Linked DNA regions of Homo sapiens: all the other regions are linked to region 1. Evidence: promoter capture Hi-C in human tissues and cell types (Jung and others, 2019). All regions are on one chromosome and are shown on one strand. Each heading gives the region's core, a stretch centred on a gene start or on the middle of the fragment in contact. The rest is flanking DNA. Distances are from core to core; before and after follow the strand shown.

What was found. The method cuts DNA at HindIII sites, captures the fragments that hold promoters and counts their contacts. A contact is called where the count stands out against the background at its distance.
Region 2: the fragment with the promoter of UBE2Q2 here is called in contact with the fragment with the promoter of PTPN9 in region 1 in 1 of the 25 tissues and cell types used here (heart right ventricle).
Region 3: a contact is called between the fragment with the promoter of FBXO22 here and the fragment with the promoter of PTPN9 in region 1, in 1 of the 25 tissues and cell types used here (IMR-90 fibroblasts).

What each region holds. Positions count from the first base shown.
Region 1 is chr15:75,577,560-75,581,939 of GRCh38, forward strand. PTPN9 (protein tyrosine phosphatase non-receptor type 9) reads right to left here and starts at 1,756. Exons shown (of 13, transcript NM_002833.4): 1 at 1,155-1,756. The coding sequence starts at 1,217. RefSeq lists silencers at 964-1,363, 1,624-2,113 and an enhancer at 1,323-1,921. The HindIII fragment of the contact is 16,601 bases long and covers 1-4,380 here.
Region 2 is chr15:75,842,197-75,846,694 of GRCh38, forward strand. UBE2Q2 (ubiquitin conjugating enzyme E2 Q2) reads left to right here and starts at 1,251. Exons shown (of 13, transcript NM_173469.4): 1 at 1,251-1,650. The coding sequence starts at 1,471. RefSeq lists silencers at 832-1,011, 1,052-1,191, 1,332-1,411, 1,662-2,061 and an enhancer at 1,333-2,230. The HindIII fragment of the contact is 12,421 bases long and covers 1-4,498 here.
Region 3 is chr15:75,902,425-75,906,553 of GRCh38, forward strand. It overlaps FBXO22 (F-box protein 22), which reads left to right and starts at 1,454. Exons shown (of 7, transcript NM_147188.3): 1 at 1,454-1,679; 2 at 2,067-2,205. The coding sequence starts at 1,540. RefSeq lists enhancers at 622-1,281, 1,106-1,195, 1,282-1,939, 1,556-1,655, 1,676-1,725 and a silencer at 1,776-1,845. The HindIII fragment of the contact is 6,006 bases long and covers 1-2,493 here.

The DNA.
Region 1 (4,380 bases), core at 506-3,005:
TAGAAAAATGTCATCTCCACAAATAAGGAGAAAAGACAAGGACTTTAAAAAATCAGGTCAACAAGCCCATTAGCCAATAATAGTTTGTAAAACTGGACTGTCTTCACACTAGAGGCTGTGCTAGCAAATGTGGTCCTTGGAAACAAGAGCTGTAGAGCTTGAAATGGGTTGCCAGCATGGTTTGCCTTTTTCTTTTTTCATGTTTATTTTTATTTTTTTTATTTATAACATGGAATCAGACTATGACTATAATCGAGCATAGCTATGGCGGGGTATGGGCAGTGCCAAGGAAGAGACAGCGAAAAGCCCGTAGGGTTCCCAGTCTAAGCTAGCAGACCTTCCCATCTTCCTCAGGAGTGGTCCCTGTCTCCGCAGCTGGAATGTGCGGGAGGGAAAGTTACAAGGGCCCCCAAAATGAGACAGCAAACCACTTCCTTCTGAAAACTAAAGGTCATAGGCTTTTAAGGAACAATAGAGCTCAATGTAAGCTTCAGAAAGATGGAGACAGTCAGATGAGACGAGGGTAGGGAAGCGCGGGTGAGGAGATGCGCCCCGTCTGGGATAGCTGAATAGGGGGGTCAAGGCCAGGGACTTTAGGAACACGAGAAGGGCTGGATCTTCCATAACCTGCCCAAGTGGGCCTGAGAAACCTAAGAGGCTCCTCTGAAAATCTAGGGCATCTATGCATCCAATACTCTCAGCCCTCTCCTCGGGAAGGGAGATAATCCCCACAGGAAGCACCCCCCAAACTGGGGCTTTTCCTGCCCTTCAAAAGCCACAAACCCTCACGGAAAACATTTACAAGGGAGTGGAAGGGCCGGGGGCAAGCAGCGGTTCTGCAAATCTCGGGAAGAAGGCCCCTGGATCCAAGGAACTTTGCCCCTGGAATAGGGGGTGGGGTGCGGAGGGCACCGTCTGAGGCTGGTAAGCCTCGGCGAAAGAAGCGGCGGGAACGGGAGTAGGGTCCCGTGGGTCCCCCGACGAGGGGGTGGCGGCCTGGGGCGCGGTCGCCGGTGAGGGAGGCCCGCGAGCCGGGCACGGGAGCGGGGGGCTGCGGCCCCGTGGCTGCAAAGAGCCGGCACTCGGGAGGCAGAGGCCGGCGTAGGCCTCGGGGGCCCGGACACACCCAACGCGGCGGCCTCGGGCCCGCTTACCTGCTCCTCCTCCGGGGTCAGCTCCGGCGCCATGTCGGGCCGGGGCGCGGTCGCGGGCTCCATCCCCCCGCCACCGCCGCCGGGCGGACAAAACTCGCTCGCGAGCGCGGGAGCCCGGCGCGCTCGGCCTCCGCTTCCGCGTCCCCGCGCCTCAGCAGCCCGGGGCCGGCTCGCGCATAGTGTGGCCGGCAGGGCCCGGCGCCTGCAGCGGCCGCAAACGCCGCTTCTGCTTCCTTAAGAAAAATCTCTCCGAACTGCCGCTCTCTTCCGGGAGGAAATCCTTTTTTATATTATTCGCTCCGTTCCTCACACTCCCCCTTATCTCCTGGGGAAGAAAAAGTGCAGGCGAAGAGCTAACAGCCACTCGGGATTTAAAAGGAAATAGGAAATCAGGAACTTTTAGAGCCGGGAGCGAAGGGTCGGCGGAAATTTCCCGAAGGCCGCCGACCCCCTCGGCGCCCCGCTTCCTCGGCCGCGCTCCCGCTCCTCCACAGCGCCACAGAGCTCGGGGCCGCCCAGCCGGGCCGTCCTCGCGGACGCTGGCCCTGCGACCTGCGCGGCTGCCTCAGCCAGGCTCCTCGCGGGCGGCCGCAGCGAAAGGGAGGGAGTGGAGAGGGAGCGAGGGAAACGCGCCCCCCTCCTGACTCACGGCCAACGCTGCGGCCGCCCCGCGGCCGCCCGAGCCCCCCGCGGCTCCATTGAGAAACTGAGCGTCTCATTCACAAGCTGGCGGCGAGGAGGGCCCGGCGGAGCGAGGACGCAGTCCGGGAGGGGGAGACAGAGAGGAGCCCGGGCGGGGGAGGGGACCGGGAGGGGGAGGGGACCCGGGCGGGGAGGGGACCCTAGCTGGACGGAAGGCAACTCGACTGCGGGAGGGAGAAAAAGGAAGAAAAGAGTATTTCGTGAGGCTCAGATCCTCGGAGGAGGAGGAGAATACGTTCGTTTGCAAATTATCTGCTGACTGGCACCTCTCCTGGGGTTAACTTGCCGCTGCCACCTACGCGTGAGAAACCCACAATCCTCAACTATTTGTCGCTTGCAGCCTGAAAGACCCTGGAAAGGTTGCCTGCCAGGCCAGGATGCTTAGGTGGAAGGAATCGCACCTGCCTCCCTCTCTCTCCCTCCTTACTGGCTGCACCCTGTAATTCATCTCCAGTGTCGCTAATTTTAATCCCCCATAGAAACGACATCAGACTCCGAACATCATTCAGGAATGACGCGGCCTTTGCAGACCTTTGATTTTCACTAGGGCAAGTGCAGCAAAGGGTTCAGGATTAGGGGTACAGTCTTGGAGTCATTTGGGGAGGAATGGGGCATAGAGAAGGCAAGGCTGGGTCTGGTACGTTGTTGCATTATTCCAAGCCAAAGATAAATATTCCAAAGGGACCCAAAGTCCACAACTAGTTCCAAGGCTGAAGCCCTGGAGCCAGTCCTGAGGGACCCAAAGGAGGGGCCTTCAGACAACAGGAAGGTGCTGTGAGTTGTGATGCTCCTATGATTTTTTTTTTATTTTTTTTTTTGAGACGGAGTCTCTGTGTCGCCCAGGCTGGAGTGCAGTGGCGCGATCTCGGCTCACTGCAACCTCCACCTCCCGGGGTCAAGCGATTCTCCTGCCTCAGCCTCCTGGGTAGCTGGGATTACAGGTGCGAGCCACCACGCCCGGCTAATTTTTGTATTTTTAGTAGAGACGGGGTTTCACCATGTTGGTCAGGCTGGTCTCGAACTCCTGACCTTGTGATCCGCCCGCCTCGGTCTTCCAAAGTGCTGGGATTACAGGCAGGCGTGAGCCACCGCGCGCCTGGCTTTTTTGTTTTTCTTTTTTTGAGACGGAGTCTCACTCTGTCACCCAGGCTGGAGTGCAGTGGCGCGATCTCGGCTCACTGCAAGCTCCCCCTCCCAGGTTCACGCCATTCTCCTGCCTCAGGCTCCCAAGTAGCTGGGACTACAGGCACCCGCCACCGCGCCCGGCTAATTTTTATTTTTATTTTTTTTATTTTTTTGTATTTTTAGTAGAGACGGGCTTTCACCATGTTAGCCAGGATGGTCTCAATCTCCTGACCTCGTGATCCGCCCACCTCGGCCTCCCAAAGTTGTTGTTGTTGTTGTTGTTGTTTTAACACAGGGTCTCACTTTGTTGCCCAGGCTGGAGTGCAGTGGCGTGATCACAGCTCACTGCAGCTTCAAAGTCCTGGGCTCAAGCAATCCTCCCGCCTCAGCCTCCTGAGTAGGTGGGACTACAGGTGCACACCACTGCACCTGGCTAATTTTTTTTTTTTTTTTTTTGGTAGAGATAGGGGTCTTACTATGTTGCCCAGGCTGGTCTCAAACTCCTGGTAAACTGCCTTTGCAAAATTATAACTGATGATTTTATGACAGTGAAAGAAATCAGACCTAACTGACTCTATCTTGTTTCTAACCCTTAAGCTGTCCTTGTTCATTCCTGGGCATAGGCCGAACTAACTTTGGGAAGGAATTCAGTTCATGGTTTGACTCTGAAACAAAATTGATAATAGCCCTTTCCCGAAAAGACCCCCTTCTTCCCTGGGGTCCAGTCTGCCTTTGCAGGACTAACAGATTAAGCTACAAGATTAGAAATTACAATTTAGGGGTCATGCAGCCATGGGCTCCAAGAGTCTAAACCTCCCCAAACTGCTCCTGGGGATAACATCACTATTGTAAAACCTAAGATCAGTGCTTGAGATATTTTGCAGACCCTGCACCCAGTGCATCAGCTGATACCATCCAGACTGGTAATCTGGCCCAAATAGGTCTGCCATCCCAACCAGGAACAGAAGACAGCAAGAAAAACTCATTTCAACTCCCTATGATCCAATCTCAAACCTGACCAATCAGCACTCTCCACTTCCTAAGCCCCTACCCACCAAATTATCTTTAAAAACTCTGATCCCTTAATGCTCCAGGGAGACTGATTTCAGTAATAATAAAGCTCCAGGCCGGGCATGGTGACTCACGCCTGTAATCCCAGCACTTTGGGAGGCTGAGGCAGGCGGATCATGAGGTTAAGAGATCGAGACCATCCTGGCCAACATGGTGAAACCCCGTCTCTAGTAAAAATACAAAAATTAGCTGGGCATGGTGGCGCGTACCTGTCGTCCCAGCTACTCGGGAGTCTGAGGCAGGAGAAGCGCTTGAACCCGGGAGGTGGAGGTTGCAGTGAGCCAAGATCGCATCACTGCACTCCAGCCTGGCGAAACAGCGAGACGCT
Region 2 (4,498 bases), core at 1-2,500, 260 kb after region 1:
TGGGAGCACTGTGCAACTACATAGGTTGGACGCATATGCAGCTGGTCCTGCCTCTTGCACTTACGATTGCACACACTATTGTCTGCCAAATTGGGATGTATTCCTTTGGACTGCTATCCAGACCTTTATTCATTTTTTGAGCACCTACAATGTGCCAGGAATTGTGCTAGTGGTGGGGATTCCAGATAAGAGCGAGCATTCAATTCAATCATATCGGGTTTCTACTATATAACAGGTCTTGTTCTAGGTCCTGGGGATACAGCTCTGAACACATTAACACGGGGCAGAGACAAGGAATAAATGGGTTAAAGATCAGATAGTGACAGGTGCCCAACAAAAACTTAGCACAGGACGATGTGACACAGGGTGACTATTTGAAATGGGTTGTGGTGGGGGGTGCCGGAGATGATATTTGAGCTATGAGTTTAGTGAAAATAGTGGGCAGCCCTAGCTCCATGGGGGTGTGGGTGGGGAGGGTTATCTTAAGCTTGGGAAACAAGGCAAAATAAGGAAAGGGGGGAGAGAGAGACTATATACGGCAGAGTGAACACAGGTGGTAGCTAAGGGAAGGGATGAAATCATGGGACACCTCCAGGCAACAGCCTCCAGGGGCTAAACCATCGTCTTGGGTAAATGGATGGTTTGAGAGCAAAGGCGGGAGCAGCGAGTCCGGTGAGAAGGTCCTCACAGGAACCCAGGCTGGTGAGAAGGTCCTCACAGGAACCCAGGCTAGCGAAGCGGTGGCTCGGACTAGGGTGAAAGTAGCGGAGGTAACGCTGGGTGAGCCGCACCCGCGTCTCCCACGAGGTCCCCCCAGTGAGGTTAGCGGGTGCCGCGCCGAGCGCCAAGCTGAGGAGCCGCCCCCAGGGGCTGGCGCTAGTCTGCAGCGGCGCCGACGTGGCCGGCGCGATCCGCCACGCACGTGTCCGGCTCCAGGCCGGGGGCGGGGGCGCGCGGGGGTCTCCGGCTCCTCCCCGACTTCTGGGGCCCGGGCGCCAGCTGGCCCCGAGCCTCCAGTCCGCGGGTGCGAAGAACGGAGCAGATGGGTCGGGAACAAGGGAGCTGGGTCAAGGCGAGGAGGGGGCGGCCGGGCGCGCGCGCTCTGGCCTCGTGCACGCGCTGAAACCGGAGCGCGCAGGGCGCGCCAGGGTGAGGGGGACGGGGGCGGGGTGGGGGCAGCCCTTTCCCAGGCGGTAGCGGGGGCGGCGTCGCTGTTGCCCTTTTAAGCCGCGGGGCCGCCGCCTCCTGCCGCTGGAGTCGGTTACAAAGGAAGCGCCACCCAGGCCGCCACACGCCGAGGCTTCCGCGCCCCTCGCCATTTTCCAGCAGCGCTCGACGAGGCGGAGCCGCGAGAGCGCGGCCCAGGCCGGCCCCGCGGGGCGGTCGCGGCCGTGACGGCGGCTCCGGGCCCGGCTCCCCTTCCGCGCCCGGCTCCCCTTCCGCGCCCCTCCCGCCGGAGATGAGGGGAAGATGTCCGTGTCAGGGCTCAAGGCCGAGCTGAAGTTCCTGGCGTCCATCTTCGACAAGAACCACGAGCGATTCCGCATCGTCAGTTGGAAGCTGGACGAGCTGCACTGCCAGTTCCTGGTGCCGCAGCAGGGCAGCCCGCACTCGCTGCCGCCGCCACTCACGCTCCACTGCAACATCACGGTGAGGCGCCCGGCCGCGGCCCCGCGGGGCAGGGCGAGGACGGAGAGGGGGCGCTTCGAGTCCCGGGACAAAGGGGAGCCTGCCCCGGAGAGGCTCCGGCTCCCCGGGCGGGGCAGGCCCGCCCCTTTCCCCCGCGACTTGCCCATCCCAGGCCGGGCTGGGACTGCGCGAGGCTTGGGTGGGAGGAGGCGGAGGGCGCGTCTTTCCGGCTTCTCGCCAGGGGCTGGCTTGGGGGCTTCTGGCCCATCTCGGTCCCCGTCTCCTAGCCCCGAGGGGGGAGTCCGCGGCGGCCCAAGCCCTTGTGGGGTCCATGGCCGCCCTCAGCCGGCCTGCTCCCGGGACCGGGGCGGGGCGGGGCGGGGCGGCGCAGCTCCGGCTGTTGTTTGAGCCCAGGCCGGCAAGGGGAACGGCCCTTAAGTTTTAACGCCTCATTTTTCAGTCGGATTTTCCTTCTTCCCGCTTGTTCAGCCAATTGTTTTTAAGTTTGCGTTTAAGGAGAAACTGACAATGAGAATGGACTCGTTGACGGAGGAAAAGTTGGAATGCAGACTCTGGTGCTGTTTGAGCGACCCCTCTCCCCCGGGCCTGGCTGCGCGCTGCTGTGTTCTGGAAAGGAGCATAGTACCGTCGTTGCGGCAGGTGGTGTTGAGTGTGTATTCGTGTGGCCCCTCCCTTGTGTGTAAGCCTCGAAAATGGATAGGTGAAAGGAGATACGCGCCAGGGCTGCTCCCCGGAAAGATCACGTATGTCACAAAGCCGAAAAGACACTTTTAAAAACTCACTCATTAAGCGGAAATCTCATTAGAAACCCAAGGCTTGGTAAAGGAATTGAAGTATTAAGTTTCTCCATAAAAGTGTATCGTGAAGCTATTCGTCGTGAAATTGATGTAGGATATTGGTCCAAACTGCAGAATATTCTCTTGGTTATAATAGGCGTCAAGGTGGTGGCTTCGGGCTCCTTTTCAAACATGGCTAAAACCAAGTCTTGTTTTTAACTCCCTTTGGTTGAGTCAGTGGGTACTCAAGTGCCTGCAGGGTGGCTGGCGTTTGCAAAAACCTTGATGTTATAATTGACCTTAAAATGGTTACCAGACTATCTGGGCAGAAGGTGTGTTAATTTCAAAAAAAAAAAGACAAGTGCTGTACTGAGGAGATAATTCATTTATTGAATGAATACGTCTGAGTGTTCTGGGCACTAGTGTTGCAGAATTGAGTGAAGTCGTCCTCGCTCTCAGAACTCAGTCTTCTTGGGGGAAGAGTTCAATAAGGTGACAGCTCCTGTGGTATCATCAGGAAAGCCAAAGCAACTAATTTTGACTTGGGGGAGGTGCGCTTCAGGGAAGGCTTTGATGAGAGGCTGAGACAGTTAGAGATGAGCTTCCACAGGTGACTACAATTTTGGAAGGCTGGCGGAAGGGCATTTTAGACTGAGGAAACTCCACCCAAAGAAGACACGGAGATTTGAGAAAGTGTGGTTTCCTTAGAAGTAGAAAATTTATGCTAAGACTTGAGAAGCCCACGATACAGGCTGGAGAAGGGGAGGATTTTCCAAGAGTGGAAAACAGAAAGTGTAGTAGTTGTCATGAAGCAGGTGTTTTAAGGAGACGGGCCTGAATGGCTTCGAGGGTGATTACTCTGGTAGAAGTTGGGGCATGGCCACGAAAAGGTAGGGCTGGTTTGAATGATAGGAGACTGAATTTGTAGGCTGTGGGGAGCTACTAAGTTTACTCAGGTAAGTTGGGAGAATGTATCTTTCATCCAGGATTAGAAATGGTTCTCTACAGTGGGTGGCATTAGGAAATGTGGTTATCCCAGTGGGGGTGGGGTGGTCTTATTGCTGTGCCGGCATTTAGTGCTAGGAGTACAGGGATACCAAATGTTTTGCAACGTTCAGGCAGTCTGCCACAGCAAAGAATTATCCCACCTAAAGTGCCACTGGTGCCCCATCGAGAACCATATTGAAGGCTGGTAAGAGTCTGCTGCAGATAAAAATAAGGAGTGATGACCTGGATTAGGCAGTGGCAACAGAAATGGAGCAAGAAGTGAATGAGACACTTTCAGTACAAGGAGGATTTAGTGAGGACTAGTGTAATGGCACCCACCGCTAGGTAGAAACTATTAAAATTGACTTGCTAGTGAAATATGACAGACTATCAGGAGATAATTATCATGGCAGCTGCTCAGTACAAATGTCTGCTAACTTTTTATTATGGAAAATCATCAAATGTACAAAAGTTGAACAGTGTAATGTAGCCAGCCTCAACAATGATAAACTTTTGGCTAATCTTCATCTGTACTCCACTTTAGATTATTTTGAAGCAGATTCCAGACAGATCACTTCATCTGTAAATATTTCTGCTTGTATCTTTTGAAGGTAAAAGACTCTTTTATTTTTTATTATTATTTTTTGAGACGGAGTCTCGCTGTGTCGTCCCAGCTGGAGTGCAGTGGTGTGACCTGGGCCCACTGCAACCTCCGCCTCCCAGGTTCAAGCAATTCTGCTGCCACCGCCTCCCGAGTAGCTGGGATTACAGGTTTCCGCCGCCACACCCGGCTAATTTTTGTGTTTTTAGTAGAGACGGGGTTTCACCATGTTGGCCAGGCTGGTCTTGAACTCCACCTCAAGCTCCCAAAGTGCTGGGATTACAGGAGTGAGCCACCGTTCCTGGCCGTAAAGACTCTTTTAAACATGGATGACTGTTTTGATAAAATGACATGGCTTGTTCATGTCGATACCATTTGCTTAGAAGGGAAAGATCAAGGGAAAAATGGGGTTGGATTTCAAATGATTTGGTTTGATCGATGATTTGTTATTCTCTAAAGTTGTAACTCTGGAAAAGGTAATGAG
Region 3 (4,129 bases), core at 204-2,703, 320 kb after region 1:
TTGGTGGCTCATACCTGTAATCTCAACGCTTTGGGAGGCGGAGGCAGAGGGATGTCTTGAGGCCAGGAGTTTGAGACCAGCCTGGGCAACATAGACCCTGGGTCTACCAAAAAAAAGAAAAAAACCACAGCTACTCAGGAGGCTTATGCCACTGACAATGTCATACTATCCACCAGTGGGGGAAGGAGGATTTGGGAAATAATTGTTTTCCATAAAAATATTTCGTTAATGTATAACATCGGTTTTTTAAAAAGAGTTAAGCATTAAGATGTTCTGATTTAATTTTTAATATGGTAAATATTGATAGTCATAACACACATAAACTATTGGTCGTGTCAATATTTTAGGGTGTAAAGGGTCCTGAGGCCATAATGAGAACTGCTAATTTAGACCAAGTTTCTGCCCAAGATCTGGCGATCAAATCAGGGCTCCCTTAGGAAGGAATTGGCGGGAGGAATGGATGTTAGGTGGGGACAAACCTGTGTCTGCTGTGCTTCCATTTCTTGGTGGTTCTCAGTTTGAGCATGCATCAGAATCGTCATAAAGTGTGTTAAAACAGATTGCTGGGCCTCACCCCCAGTGTCTGATTCAGGAGGTCTGGGATAAGGACCGGGAATGTGCTAAAACTTAGTAGTTTCCAGGTGAATCTGATGTCCCTGGCGGGGAACTGGTGCACAGCTTGGGGCGTGCTTCACAGCAATCATCTCACTCAGCTACCTTAGAATGGCAGGTGCTATTTATGCCATTTTACTCATTCGAAACTTTAAACCTGAAGATTACAACGAGTTAACTAAGTTTACAAGGAATAAAGGCAGTGATTTTCACACACTAAGACAATTTTTTAAAAGCAAACGTCCGTTTATAAATCGAGCTTATGCTATTTAAACAGGCATTGGGACTACGAAGAGCAATAAGTACTACCTAGTCCCTGCAAGGAATTTGTGAATTAGAGAAAGATGTAAACTCAGAAATATGGCGGTGCCAGGGCAGTGAGAGGCACAGGCACAGAAGAAGAATTTATTTTCACTGCAGGAGGCCTCCTAGAAAGTTGCCAGGAGCGGTGGCTTATGTCTGTAATTCCAGCACCTTGGGAGGCCCAGGCGGGAGTATCGCTTGAGCCCTGGAGTTTCAGACCAGCCTGGAAACCCGTCTCTACAAAAAATACAAAAATTAGCTGGGCGTGGTGGCGGGAGCTTGTAGTTAAAGCTACGAGGGAGGCTGAGGCGGGAGGATCGCTTGAGCCTGGGAGGTAGAAGCTGCAGTGAGCAGAGGCCGCGCCACTCCACTCCCGCCTGGCCACAGCATTAGACCCAATCTCAAAAATGAAGAAAACAGTTCCGAGCGTATTACGGAACGGAGTACACCTCGGAGTACGGGCTCCAGACGAGGGAACGCACCGGCGTTGCCACGCCCACCTTCCCCGTCCAGCCGGAAGTGGCGCGGACGCCTGCTCAGTGCGCGCCGGCCGGGCAACCCTATGCTGGCGTAATCGGGTTCCTCCGAGCCGCCGTAGGACTGGTTCCGGCGGGCTGGTGAGGAATGGAGCCGGTAGGCTGCTGCGGCGAGTGCCGCGGCTCCTCCGTAGACCCGCGGAGCACCTTCGTGTTGAGTAACCTGGCGGAGGTGGTGGAGCGTGTGCTCACCTTCCTGCCCGCCAAGGCGTTGCTGCGGGTGGCCTGGTGAGGAGAGGAGGCGGAGGCGGGAAGCTTGCCTGGGGACACGCCGTGGGCATGTCCCAGGCTGGCGGGGTGGGGGGAGAGACCCTTGGGACCCACCAGGGCCGTCCCCGGCTCGCTCGCCCTACCTGAGGTGACCCCCTACCCGCGAGGTATCTCCCAGCCGTGGTGCCCCGGGGGGACTTCCCTGAGGGGCGAAGTTCCCCTTAAGGTTTTCTCCATATCTGGCTCTTCTTCCGAACTAGCGCCCTGACTGACACCTACCTACCCCGGGGACTTTGGATCCCGCAGGGATCTCCTGCTGCTGCGCCAGCGGGTGGGGGTTTGTGAGCTGTGGGAGAGACGAAAATGAACGTCCGTTCGCAATCCTTTGTGCGTTTGCGTCCTCAGCGTGTGCCGCTTATGGAGGGAGTGTGTGCGCAGAGTATTGCGGACCCATCGGAGCGTAACCTGGATCTCCGCAGGCCTGGCGGAGGCCGGCCACCTGGAGGGGCATTGCTTGGTTCGCGTGGTAGCAGAGGAGCTTGAGGCAAGTAGCAAGGGGTGTCATGCACAGTCATTTGCAGGTTGGTGGTTCAGTCTTTGAGAACTATTTTTTTTTAAATCCCAGTTTTGTTAATTAAAGGAACATCTCGTTCCGTGAAAAGATTTTGTAAACATCAGTTTTAGTGACTACACGGTAAGGATGTGTCATGATTTATTTGACCGTTCATCAAATGTTGGGCCTTTTTTTTTTTTTTTGAGACGTAGTCTCGCTCTGTGGCCCAGGCTGGAGTGCAGTGGCGCGATCTCGGCTCACCGCAAGCTCCGCCTCCCGGGTTCACGCCATTCTCCTGCCTCAGCCTCCCGAGTAGCTGGGACTACAGGCGCCCGCCACCATGCCCAGCTAATTTTTTGTATTTTTAGTAGAGATGGGGTTTCACCGTGTTAGCCAGAATGGTCTCGATCTCCTGACCTCGTGATCCGCCCGCCTCGGCCTCCCAAAGTGCTGGGATTACAGGCGTGAGCCACCGCGCCCGGCATGTTGGGCCTTTTAAGTATCCACATTTTCACTATTAACAACAACGCTGTGCAGAACCTTCCCTTCACCTGCTTCCCTTGAAGCAACTTTTTGTTGTCTGTTTTACCGGGAAGACAACTGGGTGTGTCTTGCTCAGTGAGCACACCTAGAAAGCCAAGAACCAAAACTTAAAGCCAAATATTTCAACTTCTGATCCTGTACTCTTTTGCTTCTCTGGCCCCCAACTTCAAAAGGGGAGCCAACACCAGGAGAGATGAAGACTCGAACTGTGGAGTCAGAGGGGCTGCAGGGTGTACCATCTCTGGGGAGTGGAAGGGAACCATTTGACAGTAAAGTGCCAACCTGCTGCTCTGTCACTCTGTTTACTTTAGTACGGCTTACAGACAGACATAACTACGGTGCAGCCGTCACAATCAGGAAATTATCACTGATACATTTCTACCATTTTATCCTCAGACTCGGTTCAGATTTTGCCAGTTGTCCCAGTAAGGTTCTTCATGGCAAAAAGATCTGTTCCCAATTGCAATTTGCTCTGAGTAAGTCCTGTTTCTTTAATCTCCTTTGATCTGGAACAGTTTCTCAAGCTTTGCTTGATTTTTCCCAATCTTGACACTTAGGAAAATCACAGGCTATTTTGTAGAACATCCATCAATTGTGTCTTTGGCAGGAAATAATCACAGAAGTGATGCTGTGCTTTTTTCACGGCATACTTTAGGTGGCATGTGATTTCCATTCGTCTTGTTATTGGTGGTATTACCTTTGATTACTCAATTAAGGCGATGCTTGCCAAGTGTCTTCACTAAAATCACTCTTCTACTGTAATGATTGTTTTGTGAAGAGATCATTTGAAACTATGTAAATATCGTGTTTCAATTCATTTATTTATTTATATCTGTACACTCTCGGAGTCTTATTTAATTCAGTGGGATATAATCTGTTACTGTATTTTGGTGCTCAAATTACCCCTCTCACCCCCTAGTTTGGCTAGTAGGAGCTCCTTCAGGCTGGCTTCAGTGTCTTTTTAGAGATGACTCCATTATCTTTGAGCACTTTTCTTGTTTTCTGGCACAAGATGTTCTAAGCTTGTCTTGGGTTTTACCTGCCTTGGTCCTGGAATTGGCCATTAAGCCCTGGCTCCTTTTGATGGAGTGTGGTATTTAGAAATCAAGGTCTAGACTCTCTAAGTGTACTCCTTGCCATTGAGGGATTTGCTGCTCCAAAGCCCAGTCATTAGAGCCAAGGAATATAAGTATGTATATACATGCATGTGTATGTATATACATTAGTATATACATATACACACATTTACAATTATATTTCTATATATATGTGGAGGCTCATGAGTTCACACAGGTGCATCCTTTTCGAATCAAACGCAGGATGCTTTCTAGTTTTGTCTCTGCTCATATTTGTACCTCCCTTTTGGGCAAAG